2 separate regions of the Homo sapiens genome follow, and region 1 is linked to region 2. Evidence: promoter capture Hi-C in human tissues and cell types (Jung and others, 2019). All regions are on one chromosome and are shown on one strand. Each heading gives the region's core, a stretch centred on a gene start or on the middle of the fragment in contact. The rest is flanking DNA. Distances are from core to core; before and after follow the strand shown. Region 1 overlaps MYOCD (myocardin). Region 2 holds the start of ARHGAP44 (Rho GTPase activating protein 44).

What was found. Contacts are between HindIII fragments. The study calls those that stand out against the background at their distance.
Region 1: a contact is called between a fragment that was not itself captured here and the fragment with the promoter of ARHGAP44 in region 2, in 2 of the 25 tissues and cell types used here (pancreas and spleen).

Annotation. Positions count from the first base shown.
Region 1 is chr17:12,744,623-12,750,587 of GRCh38, reverse strand. MYOCD (myocardin) reads right to left here. Exons shown (of 14, transcript NM_001146312.3): 9 at 4,516-4,669. Among named protein-coding and RNA genes, the nearest start is that of MYOCD-AS1, 41 kb to the right of the region's middle. The HindIII fragment of the contact is 8,828 bases long and covers 1-5,965 here.
Region 2 is chr17:12,784,517-12,790,783 of GRCh38, reverse strand. It overlaps ARHGAP44 (Rho GTPase activating protein 44), which reads right to left and starts at 1,286. Exons shown (of 21, transcript NM_014859.6): 1 at 893-1,286. The coding sequence starts at 945. It overlaps ARHGAP44-AS1 (ARHGAP44 and MYOCD antisense RNA 1), which reads left to right and starts at 500. Exons shown (of 2, transcript NR_104607.1): 1 at 500-641. RefSeq lists a silencer at 1,010-1,359. The HindIII fragment of the contact is 5,339 bases long and covers 1-3,314 here.

The sequences.
Region 1 (5,965 bases), core at 2,941-5,440, 43 kb after region 2:
CCTCCCGAGTAGCTGGGATTACAGGCACGCACCACCACACCGGGCTAATTTTTGTATTTTAAGTAGAGACGGGGTTTCACCATGTTGGCCAGGCTGGTCTGGAACTCCTGACCTTAGATGATCCACTCACCTCAGCCTCCCAAAGTGCTGGGATTACAGGCGTGAGCCATAGCGCCCGGCCCAAAATTACAACGTGTTTGTAAAGCTCTTTATTACATTGCTATTCAAAGTATGGTCCTTAGACAAGCAACATCAGCATCGCCTGGGAGCTAGTTGGAAATGCAGAATCTTGGGCCCCTCCCCAGACCTAAATCAGAATCTTCATGCTACCAAGAGCTCAGGTGATTCAGTTCACACATTAATGTTTGAGAAGTGCTGCTTCGACTTGCTGCTTCTGGGAACAGACACATAAATGTTCACGGCAGAAATTTTAATATGTATCAAAAACTTTAGCCGGGCGCCGTGGCTCACTCCTGTAATCCCAGAACTTTGGGAGGCCGAGGCGGGCGGATCACGAGGTCAGGAGATCGAGACCACGGTGAAACCCCGTCTCTACTAAAAATACAAAAAATTAGCTGGGCATGATGGCGGGCGCCTGTAGTCCCAGCTATTCGGGAGGCTGAGGCAGGAGAAAGGCGTGAACCCGGAAGGCGGAGCTTGCAGTGAGCCGAGATCCGGCCACTGCACTCCAGCCTGGGCGACAGAGCGAGCCTCCGTCTCAAAAACAAACAAACAAACAAACAAAAAACTTTAAACAATATTAATATATTTAATTCAGGAATTTTATTCTAGCCTGAGGAAATAATCAGAGAAACTAATAAATGTAGGCACAAAGATCACTGAAATCATATATATATATACACACACACATATATATACACATATGTATACATATATACACATATGTATGTGTATATACATATGTGTATATATACGTGTGTATATATACACACGTATATATAGGTTTTGAGACATGTGTATATATATACACACATATATATAGGTTTTGTATATATACATATACATATGTATATACATACATATATATATATAAGTTTTGAGACAGAGTCTCGCTCTGTCACCCAGGCTGGAGTGTAGTGGTGCGATCTCAGCTCACTGCAACCTCCGTCTCCTGGGTTCAAGCAATTCCCCTGCCTCAGCCTCCTGAGTAGCTGAGATTACAGGTGTGCACCACCACACCCGGCTAATTTTTTGTATTTTTAGTAGAGATGGGGTTTCACCATGTTGGCCATGCTGGTTTTGAACACCTGACCTCAAGCGATCCGCCCACCTTGGCCTCCCAAACGCTAGGATTACAGGCGTGAGCCACTGCGCCCCGCCTGAAATCACGTTTTGAATAGCAAAAATCTGGTAGCTAGTGAAGTGTCCAGCAGTGGAATGTTAACTAGGTGGTGAAGTGATATGCTGCTATTAAAAATAAAAAATTTATTGAATATTAACAGTTATGAAAAATGTTCACGATGTGTTAAGAAAAGAAGTATGCCAGTAATTTATGTGCACGTAATTTTTTCAAGACAATTATTTTAAAACAAAATGTTTATATGCATTTTAAACCTAGAAGGAAATATAATCTGCTTTCTGTTAGTCTTATCTTTCAAAATACTGTTTACTTTTCTACACACTATCATATTTCAACAGTCAATATATGTTACTTTATAATCAGCTAAAAGGAAAGGATTGAATTAACTTACATTAGCAATTATTTATTTACCCTATAGTCTTGCTGGAATTGTTTTATCATTTTCTTTTAGATTTGCTGGTTTGAAAAAGTACAAAATGGCAACTCATTATTGTTTTAATTTTGAATTACTTAAAATTGATGAGTTCTACATTTATTTTTAGAATCTGTCTTGCCACTGAATAATTTAACTACATTATTAAATAATGTAGCTCATATTCTAAAAATGAATACAGTTGAGTTTAATTTACCTTAAACTTCAGAATATTACACTGTATGCGCTTGTTCAGGACAAAGGTTTATATACACCTCTTCCCTACATTCACTAGTGTTTTCATCACTAATAACTTTTTAAACTATTATGGAAAAATTCACACATACACAAAAGTAGATAGAAAGTCTAATGAACCTCATATACTCATCAACAAACTTCAACAATTATCACTCATGCCCAATCTTGTTTCTTCTATACTCCAACCCACTTCTCCTACCTTTCCTGAATTATTTTGAAGCAAAGCATACATAATTTCATCCAAATAATTTGGTCTCTATCTCTGAAAGATAAGTACTCTTAAAAAGCCATAATATAATAACATTATCACACCTTAAAATATGAATTATTATTTCTTAATATCAATAAGGTATTCTCTCAGTTTTTTAAACTTTCAGTCTCTCTCTTTCTCTCTCTCTCCAGTTTTTTTGTTTTTTTGTTTTTTTTTTTTTTTTTTGAGACGGAGTCAAGCTCTGTCATCAGGCTAGAGTGCAGTGACACGATCTTGGCTCACTGCAACCTCCACCTCCCGGGTTCAAGCGATTCTCCCGCCTCAGCCTCCCGAGTAGCTGGATTACAGGCGTGCACCACCACGCCCAGCTAATTTTTATATTTTTCGTAGAGATGGGGTTTCACCGTGTTGGTCAGGCTGGTCTTGATCTCTTGACTTCATGATCCGCCTACCGCAGCACCCAAAGTGCTGCGATTATAGGCGTGAGCCACCACGCCCAGCCAGTTTTTTTTTTTTTTAAATAGGATCCAAAAAATTATCCACATACTGTGATATATAACCATGAACTTTTCAAAAAGAAATCAAAGACTTTTCTCTCAGTGTTCTTTTCCTTTTGTGTAGCAAAACATGAAAATTGCTTGCAAATGTCACCTTCATTATATGACCTTTCTGATTACTATTAGCGGGGTCACCTTCATCCATTCCTCTTATTTCTCCCTTTCCTCAATTGTGGTTGCATCATATGCCTCCTTCATTCCTCTTCTCTCTTTCCTTCTCACTCTTTCCATTTTGTTCTTTGTCAATCTCATTCACCCTTCTAGGTTCAATGCTCCACACGTCGCACATGAGTCTGAAATTTCTTTTCCCACCCCTGACAAGACAGCCTGGCTAATTCTTACTGATGGAAATGGATGACTTTTCTCTCGGTTGTCCTGCTGGTACCCGCGACTTGACTTTCCCAAACTGAATGAACTTGCCACTGTCCCTTCACATCAACTCCTCATTCTACTCTCCTTCTGTCATTGATGTCACTCTCCCAAGACTCAGATGGCGCCTCTCCCCATACACACAGTGAGTGGTCAAGTCCAGCCACGTTCTCTCCTGCCCATCTCTCTCTTTCCACTCACGTCTCATACAATAGCAAAGCCCTTGAAATAAGTTACTTAGCTTTAAGCCTCAGTTTTGTCATTCATAAGCTGGTTAAACTGCCTATCATTTGACCTCTTTATGATTCTGGTTTTTATTTTCACTTTTTAAATTGGGGAGACAAAACTTATCTTGCAGGGTGAAAATTAAAGCAAATCTACACAGAATGAATGACAGATGGTTTATATTTAAAAAAAAAAAAAATTGGTAGGGGCTGGGCAGGGTGGCTCATGCCTGTAATCCCAGCACTTTGGGAGGCCAAGGCCGGTGGATCACCTGAGGTCAGGAGTTCGAGACCAGCCTGGCCAACTGGTGAAACCCTGTCTCTACTAAAAATACAAAAATTAGCTGGGTGTAGTGGTAGGTGCCTGTAGTCCCAGCTACTAGGGAAGCTAAGGCAGGAGAATCGCTTGAAGCCGGGAAGCAGAGCTTGCAGTGAGCCAAGATTGTGCCACTGCACTCCAGCCTGGATGACAGAGCAAGACTCCATCTCAAAAAAAAAAAAAAAAAAAGGTAGGCACCATCATCATCATCATCTCCTTATACCTATACTAATTACCGTAACTCTCACCAGCCAATGATTCTGAGCATGTGTATCTAGAGGGATCCACCTGCCTCAGCCTCCCAAAAGTGGGTTTTGAGGGGTCTGACAGATGGCACTATCATATCTGGATCATGTTTCTCTTTGGCTAAAGCATCTCCTGTCTCACTTGTCTCCTGTCTTACTCTTATCTAGAAATAGCCTACTTAAAAATTATTTTTTGCTATGGTAAAATAAACATAAAGTTTGTCTTTTCCCTCTATCTCAAAAGAAAGGGCTCTTGCCCTTTCTTGCCCTTCCACCTTCTGCCCTTCTACCATGGGATGGCATTTGCCAGATACTGGTGCCATGTCCTCGGACTTCTCAGTTCTAGAACTGTGAGAAATAAATTCCTTTTCTTTTCAAATTTCCCAGTTTCCAGTATCCTGTTACGGCTGCATAAAATGGACTAGACAACTGGGGTGTTCAACCACAGCAGGATAAATTCTGTCACCTCCTTCAGTGTTTCCTACAGTCTTCTTCCCCTCCCACTCTCTTACTCCAGATATCAGTTGGTCCTGGTGATGTTAACAACATACTGTTGTATTTGTTTAAAAAAAGAAAGAAACTCATGTCAAATCCTATACCTTCAGATCATCCAGGTTAGGTGGGAGTGGGCCTGGTTTGAAAGAAGAGACACCAGTTTGTCCAGAAAAACTGTTTTTGACAGGAGACAAGGGGGTATTGCTCAGTGGCGTTGAAGAAGAGTTTGGATTTCTGACCATCTGTTCATTTGGTTCCCTAAAAAACAAACAAAGAGGCATTTCAAGTACAATCAAATATTGGTGGGATAACTTGCATTTAGATCGGATCCCAAAGTGATTGCCTGCAAGGGTCAGGCATGTAATAAACCAGCAGAAGAGACCAGGGTGAGGAAAAACAACACTGCCGGCTAGACGGTAAGCGGTGCGTGACATCTGAACTTTGTTTAGGGAGATAAGAGGGAGTGGCAGGGACTTTGGCATATGAAAGAGGACACATCCACCTGTGATTCAGCTGATGCTCTGTCCTGGGGAGGCCAAACACACCTGGTGAAGCTTGGTTGCGTTTAGTGCTCAGCATAATTGCTAGTATATAGTCTGAGGATGACACAGGAGGAATCTACATCTCAACTTTATATGTGGGGATATTGACAATTTAAAGGGTGACCTGGCCAGGCACGGTGGCTCATGCCTGTAATCCGAGCACTTTGGGAGGCCGAGGCGGGTGGATCACCTGAGGTTGGGAGTTTGAGACCAGCCTGACCAACGTGGAGAGACCCTGTCTCTACTAAAAATACAAAATTAGCCGGGCGTGGTGGCGCATGCCTGTAATCCTAGCTACTAGGGAGGCTGAGGCAGGAGAATCGCTTGAACCTGGGAGGCGGAGGTTGCGGTGAGCCAAGATCGCGCCATTGCACTCCAGCCTGGGCAACAAGAGTGAAACTCCATCTCGAAAAAATAAATGAATAAATAAATAAATATATTTAAAAAAAATAAAAGGTGACCTAGCAATGTGGTCACACAACCTGGGCTCAGGAGTCAATCTTTGAGAGTGTCTGTCAGCTGCTCAGCCCTGTTCCTTCTAAAAGCAGAAGGGCATCGGAATTGCTCATAATTCCAATATCACATTCTTAGACTTTCCATAGTCCAACTTGAAAGTGCTAATACTTTCCTTTTCCCCAAAGGGGCCTCTTATCAAGGGCATTGATTTATAGCAGTCCCTCCACCTATTGGCAGTTTCACTTTACAAGATTTCAGTTACCTGAGGTCAACTGCAGTTCAAAAATAGTTGTGTCCAGTACAATAAGTTATTTTGAGAGAGAAACCACCACATCCAGATACCTTTTATTACAGTATCTTGCTATAATTGTTCTACATTATTGCTAGCTATTATTGTTATTCTCTCACTGTGCCTAATTTATAAGTGAAACCTTATCACAGGTATATATGCCTAAGAAAAATACAGTATATGTAGAGTTCAGTACTCTCTGAGGTTTCAGGGATCCAATGAGGGTTTGGAATACATCTGCAGATATAGAGGGCCCTGTATTTGCTT
Region 2 (6,267 bases), core at 37-2,536:
CTAGTCTTGGGAGCGACCCACCAGGATTTTTATGTAACCTTAATAGATGTTGGCACCCTGCAGAGCCGCTCCTGGAGTCCAGATGTAGCCCATTTTCACCGTGATGGCAGCAGGCGGGGTCTTGCAGCTTCCCGGGGCCTGACTCTTCTGACTGTGGGGCCTCTGTCCCCCTCCCCTACCTGGCTGCGATTCTCTGCTTATCTCATCTTCCCGAGGACTTGGGCCTCCTTTTTGCAGCCTCCCTCCCTCCACTGAAATCAGTCCTAACATCAAGCAGGCAGCAACGCCATTCCACCAGCACCTTCCTTCCTCTCCCACCCCTCACCCTTTCCCCCCACCAAACGCCTTAAGAAACCCGGCCAGGAAAGTGATCCAGAATCTCGTACAGTCATAGTCCCTGAAAACAAACACGGCGGGAGGGGCAGGCCGACCAGGCCCAGCACTTTCCCTGGACCCGGGAGCAGCCCTGAACTCGGCGCAGGGGAGGGGAGGGAAGAGATCTCCGGAGACCGACTGCGGTTCGGCTGCCTCCAGCACAATCAGAGCAAACACCTGTTTCCAGGAAGACAGGCGGCCAGAGGGAGAAGGGAGTCCCGGGGAAAGGCAGGGAGGACGAAGCGAAGGGGCAGCCGGGGACGCAGGTAAAGGATGCGTCACACTTTGCGCTTGGCAACCGGAGCCCGGAGCAGAAGGCGGCGAGTGAGAAGAGCTCCGGGGTCTGGGAAGTTAGGGAGGAGGGGTCGCGCCTGCGAGCGGCGCCTGGAGGGAGCTGGTGCAGGGGAAAGGACTGAGGCAAGGAGGACTGGAGGCTGGGCGGGCTCCATCACCTGCGCGCCCCTGCGGATGCAGCCTCGCGGGCGCGCACCGACAGCGGTGCCCGCGGGTGACCTACCTGCCCACCGTCTGGTTGGCCAGCTGGCGCATGCGATTGAACTGCTTCTTCATCGTGGCCCCGCTGCCGCGCTAGCCCGGGAGCTGGGGAAGGACGGAGCAGCCCGGAGCCCGCCGCAGGGTTACATGGCTCCCGCGCGGAGCCTCCCGGGCGACGGCGGCGGCACTGCGGAGCCTCCGGGCGCCGTCTGGCCCGCGCGCAGCTCCCTCCCGAGGGCGCCGCCGCCTACTCCTCCCGCCGCGCCGCCTCCTGCCGCATCCCCCTCACGCGCGCCGCGCAATGCCCGGGGCAGAGCAATGCCTGGGGCCGTCCTCGGCACCGGCCCGCTCCGCCCGGGCTGCCTGCTCCCAGTCCCAGTCCGGCGCGGGGACCCGGGAGTCTCCGCAGGCTGGCTGGCCGGCTGGCCCGGCGGTCCCCGTGCGCCTGTGCGGAGAACGCCGTGCATGCCGGGACTTGTAGTTTCGCGCCCCGTGCCCACCTTTCCTCTGTCCAAAGTTTGCAAGGACAGTGGAGTGCGGAGGTGGGAGAAGGCAGCGTCACCAGCAGCTTTGCACTTTAGCGTTCGAGTAAGGGAAACGTTTTCCTGTTTTAAAAATGGCAAAGTGGGACCAAGAATACAACAGCAAATAAAGAAAGTGAGCATCTGTCTCTCATTGTATTTTTAGTGAATGTGAGGTATCAGTGTTCTGAATTCACAGAAGGGAGATTTATGCTAGCAGATACGTGGCTGATAAAACGGTCTAAGGTCACCTGATTAATGATGAGGTTCAAGGTTAAGCTTGAAACACAGGGGCTGACAGCAGATTTTGAACAGGCATAGCTTGCATCCCAGAAGTCTGATTCTTAATTTTTACCAAACCAAACCCATTAGGTAACCAGAAGCCAATATAGATAAGTGACGTTGTGCTTACTGGCCCAACCTGTCTGAGACAGCTTTTTTGTATGGCTTAGATGCCAATCTCGTATCTAGTCCCATTTCCCTTCCACCACCAGGAGACCAAGGGGCATCAGCTGCAGCACCCCCCAAGTGTCCTGCACCACAGCATCCCATTGGCGTCAGTTGACTCCTTGGAAGGGGTTGTGGCTTCTTTGGTCTCTATCCTTAGAAAAAGATAGGTGAGCCGGGCGCGGTGGCTCACGCTTGTAATCCCAACAGTTTGGGAGGCCAAGGAGGGTGGATCACGAGGTCAGGAGTTCGACACCAGCCTGGCCAACACAGTGAAACCCTGTCTCTGCTAAAAATACAAAAATTAGCTGGGCGTGGTGGCGGGCACCTGTAATCCCAGCTACTTGGGAGGCTGAGGCAGGAGAATAGCTTGAACCTGGGAGGTGGAGGTTGCAGTGAGTGGAGATCGCGCCATTGCACGCCAGCCTGGGTGACAGAGCTAGACTCCATCTCAAAAAACAAAAAAAAAAGAAAAGAAAAAAAAGAAAAAGATTGGTGATTGCAGTTAGGTTTTATCATTATATATCAAGGTTTTATCATTATATATCAAGTAAAAGCAGTATTGTTGGGTGTGAGGCACTTTGGATTAAACAGATAGGAGTTCCTGCATCAGAATTCCACATACCTGTTATATAACCTTAGGAAAACAGCTTAACCTCTCCAAACCTCTGTTTCCTCATCCCTAAATAGAAAAATATGCTGCCTGATCTTCAGTAAGAGAACTATTTGTTAAATTACAATAATCAAATTACATATAAATTTTCATATAGTACATTGCCGTATTCATTTACTACAAAATGATTATATTTAGCATAATAGAGAAAAATCCTGTTCATACAACAGAATTACTAATCTTATAAAGGAAGGATCTTCTTTGAAATAGGATATTTTGCATATGTTGATTATAGTTGCAAGATGTCCTAAATATGGCTCTAAGTATCTTGCTGGCTAGCTGAACAAAAAGTGGTTTGAGGCATGTCTTGGCTGAATGAACATGAAATCTTTAATTAATTGTGAATTTAGCCTCTGCTTATTAGGTCAGACAACTCCAGCCAGTGAATAAATGAAGGCATTATTTGCTTTTAACCAACTATGCTGTACCTATAATGTCAATATGATGTCTATATTAAGTGAAATTATTTCCATTTTGAGATTTTTTAAAAAGCAAAGTACAACATGCTTTTTATGTGTATAAACGGTAAGACATTAAGGTCACTGTATGACTTTTAGCAACACTATCTCTGGTAACTTCCAGAACTGCACTGTTGAATATAGTATCCCCTAGCCACATGTGGTTGTTGCAATTTAAGTTAATTAAAGTTCAAAATTTGGTTCCTCACTTTTGCACTGTTGGTGGGATTGTAAATTACTTCAACCATTGTGGAAAACAGTGTGGCAATTCTTCAAGGATCTAGAACTAGAAATACCATTTGACCCAGCAATCCCATTACTGGGTATATACCCAAAGGATTATAAATCATTCTGCTATAAAGACACATGCACATGTATGTTTATTGTGGCACTGTTCACAATAGCAAAGACTTGGAAACAATCCTAATGCCCATCAATGATAGACTGGATAAAAAAAAATGTGGCACATTTTCACCATGGAATACCATGCAGCCATAAAAAAGGGTGAGTTCATGTCCTTTGCAGGGACATGGATACAGCCATTAAAAAGGATGAGTTCATGTCCTTTGCAGGGACATGGATGAAGCTGTAAACCATCATTCTCAGCAAACTAACACAGGAACAGAAAACCAAACACCGCATGTTCTCACTCATAAGTGGGGGTTGAACAAAGAGAAAACATGGACACAGGGAGGGGAACATCACACACCGGGGCCTGTCGCGGGTAGGGGCAAGGGGAGGGATAGCATTAGGAGAAATACCTAATATAGATGATGGGTTAATGGGTGCAGCAAACCACCATGGCACGTGTATACCTATGTAACAAACCTGCACGTTCTGCACACATATCCCAGAACTTAAAGTTTAATAAAAAATAAAATAAAATAAAAACAGAATTTAGTTCCTCGGTCACCCAAGTCACATTCGAAGTACTTAAGAGCCACATGTGGCTAAAGGCTACTGTACTGGACAGCACAGATAAAGAACATTACTATCCTCTCAGAAAGTTCTACTTGTTAGCACTAATCCTCAAGAACTCTGGTAGCCAACTCCAATATCATGCCAGCCCCTGCCTTCAATCCCAAGATTTTTCCGTTCCAAAGGGAAATCCCTTTGGCAGCCTCCCCTGCCAGAGTGTGGTCCAATAATGTTTTATTAACTGGTGGCTTCTCCACAGATTTTCTGTCTTCCTTTGAATGCTTCCTTCACTCAGGAAGCAGCTAGTACATTTTCTGCTTTCTACCCCGGGGAAGGGATAATAGTGCAGAAACAAGAGCTTCAGAAACACATGTGACAGAATAGAGTTCTTCAAGAAAAGAGTTTTGAGTTTCCAGAATACAGGCTTTGGAGCTTTAATAGTCTATGTCAGAAATAGTAGATTATAAAGCATATATCATCCTGCTTAGTCTAAATAAAGAACCTACAGGCTGTGAGATGTTGAAGATGGTGATGGGGACTGGAAAGCGGGAGAGAAAGAGAGAAGAAAAGTAGATGATGCTTGTGCAGATACTATTAATGCCCAAAAAATTTCACTGCCAATCCCTATGGGAAGGACTCTATTTTACCTTACTGTTGAGGTAAAGATCGGTCATGTGATTTTCTTTGAACAATGAATATGCACAGAGGTGACTTTTACGCTTCTTCTGAGGGCAGAAGTTTCAGGAGTCATTTTGTGATCCTGCCCTCTTCTTCTTAACGCTGCCAATGAACCAGTTAGGGGATGCTGTGGAACAGTGATGTGGCCCCCCAGCAAAAGGTATCTTTGCTGTTTTAAATCAGAGGTTTGTTGCTGTAACATAATTGAGTCTAAGCTGACTGCTACAGTGGGTTTCTCTGAGAAAGTAGCATGCACCTTGCTTTTACCCATGGTCAACAATTAGGTTGGGGGCAGGCAGACTGAAGACAGATATATCATATCGTTTTGGGGCATCTGAGCACAGTGGAGAAGCTGTACACCACTCCTGGAGTGAAGGCTAGGCATGGCCAAGCTTGTGGAGATCCTCTGCCTTCTAAGACAGAGGACCAGTAAGACATCTATATGAAGTGCCTCAGGTACCCATACCACAGGCTAGTGGCAGCCCCAGAGCTCCCTGCACCCAAGCCATGTGCGATGATTTGGTGTCTGCATGTGTGCTGTGAGGATACACAAATGTACCTGAAACAGCTGGATGTGAAAGCTATTGAGATCAAAGATGATGATCAGGAGGAGGAGGCAGCATTGGCCAAGATGGAGATGGAATTGCCTAAAACTTAATTTTTGCCACCTAGAAGAATAGACTTAATATAAAATTTAAATGTATTTGCAAAAGAAGAGGAGGAGGTGAGGAAGGACGGTGGGAAGGGGAAAGAAGAGGAGAAAAGAAGAAAGAAATTTCTATGTCTTATATACCTAGCTTTGACCTATGGGAAGATTACACTTCCCTGCTCCTGTTGACCTTGACTTTGACCTTGTCACTTGCTTTGGTCAACAATATATGGGCTTCTTACTTGCTTCAGCAACATTGTAGTACTATTTGTCTGAGATATGTTCCCTTAGAAATCTGATACTCCATTTAGAATCCCCTGAATTAGAATGGTTTTAACCTCTACTCTGAGAGCAAGCATTCACTAGAGCCACCTGGCCAACATGGGAATCATTAGCTACATGTGGTTACTTAAATATTATTTTAAATTAGGTTAAATAAAACAAAAATTTCAGTTTTTCATTTCAAGTGCCCAATAACTACATGTGGCTAGTGGCTGCCGTAGTAGAGAATGTAAAATAACATTTTCATCATCATAGAAAGCTCCATTGGACAGGGCTGGTCTACAGAACAGAATTCAGAATAACCTCATGTGTCACTTAATGACAGGGATATGTTCTGAGAAATACATTATTAGGTGATTTTGTTGTTGCAAAAACATCATAGAAAGTACTTACACAGCCAGGCGTGGTGGCTCACGCCTGTAATTCCAGCACTTTGGGAGGCCAAGGCAGGTGGATCACCTGAGGCCAGGAGTTCGAAACCAGCCTGGCCAATGTGGTGAAAACCCGTCTCTACTAGAAATACAAAATTTAGCTAGGTGTGGTGGTGGGCATCTGTAATCCCAGCTACTCGGGAGGCTGAGGTAGGAGAATCACTTGAACCCAGGAGGCGGAGTTTGCAGTGAGCCGAGATCGTGCCACTGCACTCCAGCCTAGGTGACAGAGCGAGACTCCGTTTCAAAAAAAAAAAGAAAGTACTTACACAGACCTAGATTGTATAGCCTACTGCATGCCTAGGTTATAGGGTATAGCCTACTGCTCCTAGGCTACAAA